Linked DNA regions of Homo sapiens: regions 2, 3 and 4 are each linked to region 1. The links are contacts of gene promoters, found by promoter capture Hi-C in blood cells and fetal thymus (Javierre and others, 2016). All regions are on one chromosome and are shown on one strand. The core of a region is centred on a gene start or on the middle of the fragment in contact, and the rest is flanking DNA. Distances in the headings are between cores, read along the strand shown.

Region 1 (2,920 bases), core at 133-2,632:
AGGGAGAGCTGGAGGCAGCCTCTCATTTTACCATATCTGTGGGACCCCCCAACAACTCAAACTCCCTGGTCTGTAAAGGTGCCTGTCCACTCTGGTCAGAGCCTCAACACACTTATTCTGTCTCTTCCTCCTCTTTCCCTCTTTTTTTCTTTCTCCTCAGATGAGATTTGTGACTCTCCATTTGGCTGCCTGCCTGCCCCCATCCTCTCTGCATTTGCCTTCTGCTCTCTGGACACCCACCTCACCCTGCTCTTTCCACAAACCTCAGTTACACACCTAGTATGTGCTGGACACTGTGCTAGGCACAGGAAACACAAAAATGAGGTCTAGGAGTTCCTGGGGACACTCCTGGAGCGCTTCAGCCTGTTCTCCCAAGAATCCCTCCTCATCTCCTGGGAGCTCCTGAAAGTCCTTTGTAAACTGTAAAATGTCAAACAAATGTTGACTCTTACTGCCACTTTCAGAGGATAACTGGGGAGTTAGTCGCTCCACAGAATGAAGAGGGAATCTTGGCCAAAAGGGGATGAATTGGAGATCAGGGTCTGAGTTGGGCAGGAAGTATTCTTCCCCCTACCCCCATCTATCCATCTTTTTACTCCAGGCCTCTTTGACTCCCTATTTGGAGGAGTTTGTAAATAAAGAAGTCCAGGAGTCCTGCCTGGGACCAGGGCAGTGGGGGAAAGAGCTCTGGAGAAAATCTGTAGCCTGCAAAGAGATTCCAGCACTTGCATGTGTACACACTCTGCCTGCCTGCCGCTAGTTCTCCCCGACCTCCAATAACAACAAGGCTGGAGAGACAAAAGGTAAAGAAGGGAAGTGGTCTCCTCCACACCCCACTCTTTTTTCCTCATCTCTGAGCCTATTATTCCAGCCTCTAGGCTTCCTTTCACACCTCTCCTCCCCCCATTAAGCACACCTGGCGACATGTGAACATCAGCACAAATCCACACACAGACATTTAGTTGTACCTACCCCCATCTGCAGCCAGGATCCAAATCACCTCCAGCAGGAGGGCGGAGAACAACATAGTGTCCCAGGAAGGGGTGCAGGGGACTGGGAATTTGAGGACTAGAGGACTAGGACAGGCAGAGAGAGAGGGAGGGAGGAGTGAGAGAGAGAGAGAGAGAGCGAGCGAGCTCCTGGCGTGAGTGTATTTATCTCTGCTTCTCTTGCTGTCTCTGTCTCTGTGGGCTTCCAGGGGATTCGGTGTTCAGTAGGGTATCATGGGTTTCTGGATCCCCAGGACAAATCTCTTGCTGCCTCTTTGCCCTCTCTCTTTATCTCCCTCTGCAGTCTCCACTCCACTAGCTGGCCAGCGACTTTACAACTGCCTCCTGCTTTTAAGGTGGCTCTGAACTGGTGTATGTGGGGACGGGGGTGCTGCCTGGGCTGCTGGTGAACAGCTCCTTAAATAGCCAATTAGGCATGCAGGATGGCCCCACTCGGAGCTGGAGCGCGGCAAGTTTCACTGGAGCCCTGGCCCTGGCTCAGGAGCCCAGCTGGGGTGAGCTCTTCCTTCCTCTGCTAGTCACACAGATGCTGTTTAGATGGGTGTTCCCTGGAGCAGGCAGGGTCAAGGAAGGGGCTTTGGGGTTCAACTCAGCCCCCTCAAAAGGACACTGTATTTTCATCCCCCCGCCTGATTTCTCCTCTGAGGAGCAGCTCCCTGGGTGGTATGCGGCAGATGGTGGGGGTACCTGTTCCCAATTCCCTGCATAATCTGAGCTGCCCTGGAATGGGAAGAGTCCAGAATTAGGAGATATATAACAAGAAGGAATTAGGGACTCAGGGTGCAGGGGAGGGGTGGAGGAAGTCAATAACTAAAACCTGAGTTGTGTCCTAAGTTCTAAGGAAGAGAAGTGAGGCAAGGAGAACTCATCTGGAGCAATCTCTTCTGTGCCTGCCACCACCCCCTTCCCACGGTGAGGCCTGGGTCCACGTGCCTGTGTGGCCTGGGGTGGGGGGAGTGCGGGGAGGGAGCGTTGTTTGCTGGATAAAGCCCATTTGTATGCCCAGTGGGGGAGGGGTGTAGCAGCACCATGGAGAGACAGCGGCTGTAACTGCCAGACCCAGCCACCTCCCTCTCCAGGGAGCCCAGATCTAGGGCGGCTTTTGTCACTGAAGAGGACACTGACCTCCGGCAGAGAGGCCAGGGCAGGAGGAAAGGAGAGACTTTAGGAACAATCACTACCACCATCAGAAAAAGGTGGTTTCCAGAGAAAGAGAGGGGAGGGTCTGGAGAGACCATGTGATCCAGATGGAAGAGGGGCTCAGGGTCTTCCTTCCAGCCCAACAAAGGGCTGAGGCAGGACATGTGGCACTGAATGAAACCTGCCACCAAGGAGCTGCGTCCGTGGAGCATGGAGGCTGCACGTCTCAGGAATGTGAACTGATGTTTGCTCCCCACGGGACTGGAAATCCCGATTGGAATGTACATCCTAAATCCCTCGTTAGAGAATGTGAAACCCACAGATACTTTCAAGCCAGACATTGAAACCTCTTTCTCCTCCATGCTCTTCACCAGAGGCACCAGCCAGGAGGATGCACCCATCTGAAGCTCCCTCTGCCCTCCTTGCTCCTGCCGAGTAGCAATAAATAGCCAAACAAAGGGAGCAGAAGCTAAATAAGGGAGCAGGATAAAAGCCAAATGAACAGAATAATGCATGTGCTGGATCATCAGCTCCTGCAGAGACAGGAGCTCACTGTGCCTTTCTATCCCCTGTGATTGATCTGCAAAGCCAAGCCATTTTGCTGATGTCATTTCCCTTTTTCTTCTCCTATCACCCTCTGAGTTATTTGTCCCCTTCAGGAAAGTTTTATGTTTTGAGGTTCCCCAAAGCCCCATCCATCCCATCTAAGAAGAGTAAAAGACTTGAAGTATAAATTAGATTTCCCGGGAATCAGGGTACTTAACACAAAG
Region 2 (2,920 bases), core at 309-2,808, 320 kb before region 1:
TGAACTCTTTCTAGCCCTTTTAGATTTTGGCACTGTGAAACCCCTGCTGGAAACCTGAGTGACCCTCCCTCCCCACCAAGAGTCCACAGACCTTTCATCTTTCACGAACTTGATCCTGTTAGCAGGTGGTAATACCATGGGTGCTGTGACACTAACAGTCATTGAGAGGTGGGAGGAAGTCCCTTTTCCTTGGACTGGTATCTTTTCAACTATTGTTTTATCCTGTCTTTGGGGGCAATGTGTCAAAAGTCCCCTCAGGAATTTTCAGAGGAAAGAACATTTTATGAGGCTTTCTCTAAAGTTTCCTTTGTATAGGAGTATGCTCACTTAAATTTACAGAAAGAGGTGAGCTGTGTTAAACCTCAGAGTTTAAAAGCTACTGATAAACTGAAGAAAGTGTCTATATTGGAACTAGGGTCATTTGAAAGCTTCAGTCTCGGAACATGACCTTTAGTCTGTGGACTCCATTTAAAAATAGGTATGAATAAGATGACTAAGAATGTAATGGGGAAGAACTGCCCTGCCTGCCCATCTCAGAGCCATAAGGTCATCTTTGCTAGAGCTATTTTTACCTATGTATTTATCGTTCTTGATCATAAGCCGCTTATTTATATCATGTATCTCTAAGGACCTAAAAGCACTTTATGTAGTTTTTAATTAATCTTAAGATCTGGTTACGGTAACTAAAAAAGCCTGTCTGCCAAATCCAGTGGAAACAAGTGCATAGATGTGAATTGGTTTTTAGGGGCCCCACTTCCCAATTCATTAGGTATGACTGTGGAAATACAGACAAGGATCTTAGTTGATATTTTGGGCTTGGGGCAGTGAGGGCTTAGGACACCCCAAGTGGTTTGGGAAAGGAGGAGGGGAGTGGTGGGTTTATAGGGGGAGGAGGAGGCAGGTGGTCTAAGTGCTGACTGGCTACGTAGTTCGGGCAAATCCTCCAAAAGGGAAAGGGAGGATTTGCTTAGAAGGATGGCGCTCCCAGTGACTACTTTTTGACTTCTGTTTGTCTTACGCTTCTCTCAGGGAAAAACATGCAGTCCTCTAGTGTTTCATGTACATTCTGTGGGGGGTGAACACCTTGGTTCTGGTTAAACAGCTGTACTTTTGATAGCTGTGCCAGGAAGGGTTAGGACCAACTACAAATTAATGTTGGTTGTCAAATGTAGTGTGTTTCCCTAACTTTCTGTTTTTCCTGAGAAAAAAAAATAAATCTTTTATTCAAATACAGGGTGTGATATGGGTCTTTTCTCATCGACGCCTCTTTTTCCTTCCCTCTCTTAGGCAAACCTTTTAGAGAAGTCAGCTGAGCAAATATGTACAGGTGAATTCAAAGCAAAAGCCTCACAAAGTTGATTTGCCTTAGAGCAAAGGACAGTTCCTTTCTTCAATTCTAATTAGAGGTGTTGGGTTTTTAATTAAATATATTACTGCTGTACTTAGAGGAGTTCTTAAACCTCCAAGTAAAATCAAAAACCTCTTTAAAATCAAAATTTCTGTCTTGATTTATTTATTTATTATTTTTTTTTTGAGATGGAGTTTTGCTCTTGTTGTCCAGGCTGGAGTGCAATGGCACGATCTCCGCTCACCGCAACCTCCGCCTCCCAGGTTCAAATGATTCTCCTGCCTCAGCCTCCTGAGTAGCTGGGAATACAGGCATGCGCCACCACACCCAGATAATTTTGTATTTTTAGTAGAGATGGGGTTTCTCCGTGTTGGTCAGGCTGGTCTTGAACTCCCGACCTCAGGTGATCTGCCCACCTCTGCCTCCCAGAGTGCCAGGATTACAGGCGTGAGCCATCGCACCCAGCCTCTGTCTTGATTTTTTTGAATCACCAGGTGTTGGTATGTTTTGTTTTGTTTTGTTTTGAGGCACAGTCTCACTCTTTTGCCCAGGCTAGAGTGCAGTGGGGCAATCTCGGCTCACTGCAACCTCAGCCTCCCGAGTAGCTGGGATTACAGGTGCCCGCCACCATGCCCGGCTAATTTTTCTATTTTTGGTAGAGACGGGGTTTTGCCGTGTTGGTCAGGCTGGTCTTGAAGTCCTGACCTCAGTGATCCACTCGCCTCAGCCGAAGTGCTGCGATTACAGACCTGAGCCACTGCGCCCAGCCTTGATCTTGAGGTAAGAGGGTACTGTACAGCAGTTACTCTATCATAACACCTAAATAATACCTAAAGTTAAAGAGTTTTGATGAAGTTCTTGGCAGCAGTGCTTTTCCCCTTCTGCTTTCCAAAAGGAGGTAAAAAGAAGCCAGTCAATTTCAAAAACCCCTATCCTGCTTTTATTTTCAGCTACCTTGAAAGTGAGCTGAATCACCATGGAAATGTGCAAATGTGAGGTTTGCATACTTGGTTTTAAGCCCTGAGCACCATATGCTAATCAGGCAATCAGGATTCTGTGCCTCCCTGCAGTCAGTTGCATTTCTATTTAAAAGTGCATTTTGGTTTGGAAGCCCCTTTCTGGAGCCTAACTACCAAAAGGCAGCAACTTTTTGTATCATTACAAAGAAAGCTGTGTAAGTGCACTCCCAAGCAAAGGTGTGGTAGGAGAGTAGCAGCCACAGAGGACCCAAGCCCAAGTCTTGGCCTGAGTTAAGTTAGTGCTATTGCTCCCATTGACGTGCTATGATGTGAAGCCGTTTCTGGTACAGTGTTCCTTTGCTCAGCACCTTAAAAGCTTGGATTTAATAGTAACTGGGTAACCTTAATCAGTAGTCAGAATTATCAACACTTTGCTTTATTTGACACAACCAGACTTTCTCAGTTCCTGTTCTGTATCTAGAGCAACGTCTTCATACTGTTTTTTCACAAAATTTTTATTTAAAACAGTTGTGACAGCCGAAGGATTTTTTTTTTTTTTTTTACAAAATTAAAATGAAATAACTTGTACAACTGGTGCGTACCATGGCTCCAG
Region 3 (2,920 bases), core at 312-2,811, 300 kb after region 1:
AATACCCACGTTCTATCCTTGGCCAGCCAGCCTTTCCCTCTCAAAGTCAGCCTTTCCATCTGAAAGTCCCCAACATGCATAGAGAATAGTGGCTAGTAATGGAGCAATAGTTTTAGTCCTTTTGCTCAGCACAGTGAAAGTTCATACTGAAAATGTGGCTTTCATAATTGTCTTAGCTTAGACCATTCATAGCATTATTACCCACCTTGGGAGTGGGAATGGTAGGAGGAGGATAATGAACTGGGGAAGCTTCCTTTAGCTCCCCAGTACCAAAACCACACTAAATAAGTTTTGATTTCCTGGGCTTCCTTGTTTTATGTTGAAATTGGTGGTGAGGCTCAGTAATAGTTTCTTAAATGTTAAGGCTAGAAGTTGTACACCACCTAGTGGCTGTGTACATTAAAACAGGAAGCAGAAACCGGCCAGGAAGAGGGAGCCGGATCTGGATGTGTCTATTGGAGTGACTGCAGCACTCCATATAGAACCTGGGCATTGCTCTCTTTATTTTTAATTGAAGTAAAATTTGTGATAGCATTTTACAAATTGAAAATAGCTGTGTCATTTAAAAAATTCCCATTAAATTTGTTCCCAGTACCCCTCATGTTTCCAGTGATTTCCTTCTACTCTGTCAGTGTGCGGTTAAGCCGTATAGACTCATTTTAATACTAATGTCAGCCAAATAAAATTAATAAGTTAAACTTATTTCCCTTATCATTATATACATCCTAAAGCCAATGTATTTTAAAATTGCTTGTACCATTGCCTGCTCTCCTTTGATAAAAATTGTAGTTTCACTTAGCATATGTTTATTGATTATAGTCACAAAATAGACCTTGGGTGTATTGCATAAAACATGATCCTAGCATAGAGGAGGAGATGGACATGTAAATACATAATTGCAACAGGTTATAACATGTATGACTCTTACAATAGACGTCTCTATAGCAGTTAATGCTGGCCGGATGCGGTGGCTCATGCCTGTAATCCCAGCACTTTGGAAGGCCAAGGCAGGCGGATCACCTGTTGGTAGTTCGAGACCAGCCTGGCCAACATGGTGAAACCCCGTCTTTACTAAAAATACAAAACTAGCCAGGCATGGTGGTGTGCACGTGTAGTCCCAGCTACTCCGGAGGCTGAGGCAGGAGAATTGCTTGAACCTGGGAGGTGGAGGTTGCAGTGAGCCAAGATCATGCCACCACACTCCATCCTGGGTGACAGAGCAAGACTTTGTCTCAAACAAACAAACAAAAAAACAACAACAACTCTATAGCAGTTAGGGAGAGAGGATACAAAGGAAGGAGTGGTTGATCTGCCAAGGGAGATTTAGAAGACTATTTGGAGGAATGATACCTGAGTTCTGTCCTAAAAGTTGAGAAATTGTTCACAAGGTTGACAGAAAGTGAGCTACTCCAGGCAGAAGGAACAGCTTAGACAAAAGCTCAGTGGTATAAAACAACATGGTATATTTCAGGAACTACAGCTGATTCAGTGAGATATATCTGACTAGAGAAGTGGGTAGGGGCCAGAAAGTAGGCTTTGTATGCAGCACTTCTACTTGGGAGGCTGAGGCAGGAGAATTGCTTGAACCCGGGAGGTGGAGGTTGCAGTGAGCTGAGATCGTTCCACTGTACTCCAGCCTGGGCGACAGAGTGAGACTCTGTCTCAAAAAAAAAAAAAAAAAAAAAGAAGGTATCCAGGTGTGGGGTGGGTGAAAGAAAGAAAGGAATATTAGATAATTCCTTGGTTTTGAGCTTGGATGTTTGGGTGATAGTTGGTGCTATTCACTAAGGTAGGAAAATAGGAAGAAGAGTGGGTTTGGGAAAAAACAGGAGTTCTATTTTGACTTTACAGAGTTTGAGGTAGCCATGGGCAGGTGGCAGTCTCCAGTAGGTAGCTGGATATATGAATATAGAAATTAAGAAGTCTAGGCTGAGTGCAGTGCCTCATGCCTGTAATCCCAGCATTTTGGGTGGCTGAGACAGGCAGATCACCAGGTCAGGAGTTCGAGACCAGCCTGGCCAACATGGGGAAAGCCCGTCTCTACTAAAAATACAAAAATTAGCTGGGCCTGGTGGTGGGTGCTGTAATCCCAGCTACTCGAGAGGCTGAGGCAGGAGAAGCATTTGAACCCGGGAGGTGAAGTTTGCAGTGAGCCGAGATTGTGCCATTGCACTCCAGCCTGGGTGACTCTGTCTACAAAAAAAAAAAAAAGAAAAAAAGGAAAGAAAAGAAAAAGAAAAGAAATTAAGAAATCTGGGCTGGAGATAGATGGTATATACCATACAGATGGTAGTGGATGAGATTATGGCAGTAGAAGAGATCACCCAGAGGGAACCAAGGTGAAAATCATTGACACACCACTAGTATTTTGGGGGCAGACAGAATTTAGAGGAATAGAAAGTAATTTTATGGACGCTAATGGCAAAGAAAATTTAAAGAGGAAAATAACCCATGTGAAGGCTAAGATGGGAACCAGGGTCCACTGAATGTGGCAATTAGAAGGTCATTGTTCTTTGCCAAAATCAGGTAGGTGAAATGTTATGTGGCAGGTGGGTGAGCAGGATGGAGGGCAGAAATGGGACAGATTGCAGTAGGTCAAAAAGAATGGATGATAAAGAAGTTTAATAGTCATAGACTATTAGTTCATGGATCTTGACTGTAAAAGAGATAAGAGATTTGACTTTGTAGTACAATTTGTAAACCAAGTGCTAAGGGATTAGGGAGTAAGTAACAGTGAATAAGGTGGAATAGGTATTGCCTCTTAGAACCCAGCCTCTAATTGCCCAATGTCCCCTGCCTGTCCTTCACACAGTCAGGGCTGGTATACACAGAAGATGAATGGCAGAAGGAGTGGAATGAACTGATCAAGCTTGCCTCAAGTGAACCCCGAATGCATCTAGGTACCAATGGAGCCAACTGT
Region 4 (2,920 bases), core at 256-2,755, 260 kb before region 1:
GCCTAACACAAAAAGGACTGTTTACTTTAGCTGAACTTTGCATACATTCAATGCTTTGTATATCCTTCCCTTTCAACAAAACCCTACTCAAGCTTGAATTCTGTGAAGCTTTCCCTGGCCTCTCCAATAATTAGGAGCTCTGACTCCTTTACTTTACTCACCGCCCCTGAATTGAGCAAGTTATATTTTAATAGTGTATACAACGAATTGCAGTGAATGTTAACACGTTCACCTTTTATTGCTAACAGCAATGCTACCCGTGCTTCCAGGCTCTATCCAAACTCACTGCTTCCAGATAATAGCTGGCTGGTCCCTAGGGAGAATTCTTTAACTCTCAGCATTTGATGCTCAATTCAGTACCTCCTCATATTCAGCACTGTAGCTTACAAGTGCTCTCCGGGTTCCCTTCCTCTCCTCCCCGACAGACTAAACTGCTAGGGTTTGGGACCGCAGTCCTCCTCTCCTCTGACTCCCACCTCTCTGCAGCATTTGGCGCTGCACTTTGCAAACGCAGCTCTAAAGCATCTCCGGGAAGCTCCTGCACAGACCAAAGCCCCCCCGCTCCCTTTTTTTTTTTGAGACAGAGTCTCCTCTCTCGCCCAGGCTGGAGTGCGGTGGCGCGATCTTACTGCAGCCTCCGCCTCCCGGGTTCAAGCAATTCTCTGCCTCAGCCTCCCGAGTAGCTGGGATTATAGGCGCCCGCCACCACGCCCTGCTAATTTTTTTTTTTTTTTGTATTTTTAGTACAGACGGGGTTTCACCTTCTTGGCCAGGCTGGTCTTGAACTCCTGACCTCGTGATCCACCGCCTCGGCCTCCCAAAGTGCTGGGATTCCAGGCATGAGCCACCGCGCCCGGCCCAAAGCCCTTTAAAGACAAGTCTCCGCTTGCGGATTCGCCCGCCAGGTGACAAGGCTTCGTGGGCCAGGACTCCGCCCGCTCCCCGTGGGCTGGGGCGACCCAGGCCAGGAGGGTACACGTGGGACCGGGGGGTAGGGGAATTGCTGGGCCGGCCTTTTCCCCCTGCCTCCCCCGGTTCCTCTGTCCTGGAGGCCGTAGGAGATGCGCAGGACGCCCGCACATGCGCAGTGTCACTCTCGAGCTCCAGACTCGAGCGCGGCGGGCAGGAGGCCCAGGCGGCCCCGGGCTCCCGAGACTGGGCTGCCGGCTCAGGGGCGGGGCACAGCGCTGCCCTCGCCCGCTCATTGGCTCGCGTGCTGACGGACAGGTGGGGCGGACAGCCGGCGAAAGATCTGAGGAGCCGCTGGACTGGAAACTGCTACTGGGCTAAAAATACTTAAGTAAATAAATGAAAGCCTGTGGAGGAGGAGAGGAAGGAGAGGCGGGCGTGGGTTTGGGAGCAACTGAGGCTCCGCTTGCCCCTGGCTGGCGCAGGATGATGGTTCTTGGTTCACTCTCTCCGTCTCCGCTAGAACTGGAGCGGAGAAGTCTGCTTTCTGGAAGGTCGTCCTGGCGGCGGAGTCACACAGGACTTGTTCCCCTGGGACTCTTCATTCCGAGTCTTCATTCCGATTCTTTCAGATCCAGCCTTGAGGCCTCGGGTTCCTGGGAGCAGCTTTGTAGGGCTTGAGAGTCCTAGTCACCGCCACCCTCGGGTCCAGCTCAGGTTGGGGGCTACAGCTCCGTCCCTCCGGCACTTGGGACGACACTCTTTGAACTGGCCTCCCAGCGTCCCGCCTTGCTGGCTGCCGACTAAACTTTTTTTTTTCTTTTTGAGACTGGGTCTCGCAGGTTGAAGTGCAGTGCCGAGACCATAGCTCTTTGGGTGGCTGGGATTACAGGCGCGCGCCACCTCCCCGGCTCTCCGACTAGACATTATTTTATTTTATTTTATTTTTGAGGCACAGTCTCGCTGTGTCGGCCAGGCTGAGTGCAGTGGTGCGATACTGGCTCACTGCAACCTCCACCTCCCAGGTTCAAGTGATTCTCGTGCCTCAGCCTCCCGAGTAGTTTGGATTATAGGTGGGCACCACCACGCCTGGCTAATTCAGTAAAGATGGGGTTTCACCATGTTGGTCGGGCTGATCTCGAACTCCTAACCTCAAGTGATCCGCCCGCCTCGGCCTTCCAAAATGCTGGGATTACAGCGTGAGCCAGTGCGTCCGGCCTAGACATTCTTAAAAGGCAAATTGGAACACATCCTCCGCTTGAAAACGCCAGTGCCCCCTGGGCCAGGGCACCAAGATCCACTTAAAACCCTGCGGGTGAGGCATTAGTGATGAGCTCCTGCTTATCATTCCAGCCATATCAGAGAGGAAGGCCACCAAAGAGTCAGGTCCTTTCAGCCTTGACCCTTGTGCGCACTCTGCCCGCTCACACCCTCTACTTCTTTACTGGAGAAACTCTGACCTCAACGCCCCTCCTGTGCACCTGTGCTGCCCCCAGCCCCACTCCCACCTCGGGACGTTCCTGTCATGCTCAGAGCACGCTGGGGGCCCTGTACCACAACACTTGTCACACCTGCTAGGCTCAGGGACAGTGAACAACCTCAGGGCAGGGGCTGTGTGTGTTCTGGATGTGTATCCCCAAGTCTAGCAGAGTGTGCATAGATAGGGGTTCAATAAATGGATATTGGCCAGGCACAGTGGCTCACGCCTGTAATCCCAGCACTTTGGGAGCCTGGCCAACATGGTGAAAACCCGTCTCTACTAAAAATACAAAAATTAGCTGGGTGTGCTGGTGCACGCCTGTAATCCCAGCTACTCGGGAGGCTGAGGCAGGAGAATCGCTTGAACCCAGGAGGGTTGCAAGTTGCAGTGAGCCAAGATCGTGCCACTGCACTTCAGCCTGGGCGATAGAGCGAGACTGTGTCTCAAGAAAAAAAAAAAAAGGATATTGAATGAATGAAGGCATGAATTCTAAGGATCAAAAGTGAAGCTTTAAAAATGTTAGGCTGGGCT

Evidence for each region. The method cuts DNA at HindIII sites, captures the fragments that hold promoters and counts their contacts. A CHiCAGO score of 5 or more calls a contact.
Region 2: a contact is called between a fragment that was not itself captured here and the fragment with the promoter of CA14 in region 1, in 1 of 17 cell types (M1 macrophages). The highest score is 5.5, in M1 macrophages.
Region 3: a contact is called between a fragment that was not itself captured here and the fragment with the promoter of CA14 in region 1, in 6 of 17 cell types (neutrophils, M1 macrophages, naive B cells and 3 more). The highest score is 9.2, in neutrophils.
Region 4: a contact is called between a fragment that was not itself captured here and the fragment with the promoter of CA14 in region 1, in 9 of 17 cell types (endothelial precursors, M1 macrophages, megakaryocytes and 6 more). The highest score is 13.4, in endothelial precursors.

The regions. Positions count from the first base shown.
Region 1 is chr1:150,256,236-150,259,155 of GRCh38, reverse strand. CA14 (carbonic anhydrase 14) reads right to left here and starts at 1,382. Exons shown (of 11, transcript NM_012113.3): 1 at 973-1,382. The coding sequence starts at 1,027. RefSeq lists an enhancer at 2,498-2,920. The HindIII fragment of the contact is 8,593 bases long and covers 1-2,920 here.
Region 2 is chr1:150,572,867-150,575,786 of GRCh38, reverse strand. It overlaps MCL1 (MCL1 apoptosis regulator, BCL2 family member), which reads left to right. Exons shown (of 3, transcript NM_021960.5): 3 at 1-1,229. It overlaps ADAMTSL4-AS1 (ADAMTSL4 antisense RNA 1), which reads left to right and starts at 1,235. Exons shown (of 4, transcript NR_104133.1): 1 at 1,235-1,663; 2 at 1,966-2,128. The HindIII fragment of the contact is 2,255 bases long and covers 431-2,685 here.
Region 3 is chr1:149,959,689-149,962,608 of GRCh38, reverse strand. It overlaps OTUD7B (OTU deubiquitinase 7B), which reads left to right. Exons shown (of 12, transcript NM_020205.4): 7 at 2,813-2,920. Among named protein-coding and RNA genes, the nearest start is that of MTMR11, 24 kb to the right of the region's middle. The HindIII fragment of the contact is 2,620 bases long and covers 252-2,871 here.
Region 4 is chr1:150,513,904-150,516,823 of GRCh38, reverse strand. FALEC (focally amplified lncRNA regulator of ECM1) reads right to left here and starts at 1,072. Exons shown (of 6, transcript NR_186305.1): 1 at 762-1,072. RefSeq lists a silencer at 878-1,247 and enhancers at 1,338-1,487, 1,558-1,627. The HindIII fragment of the contact is 2,789 bases long and covers 111-2,899 here.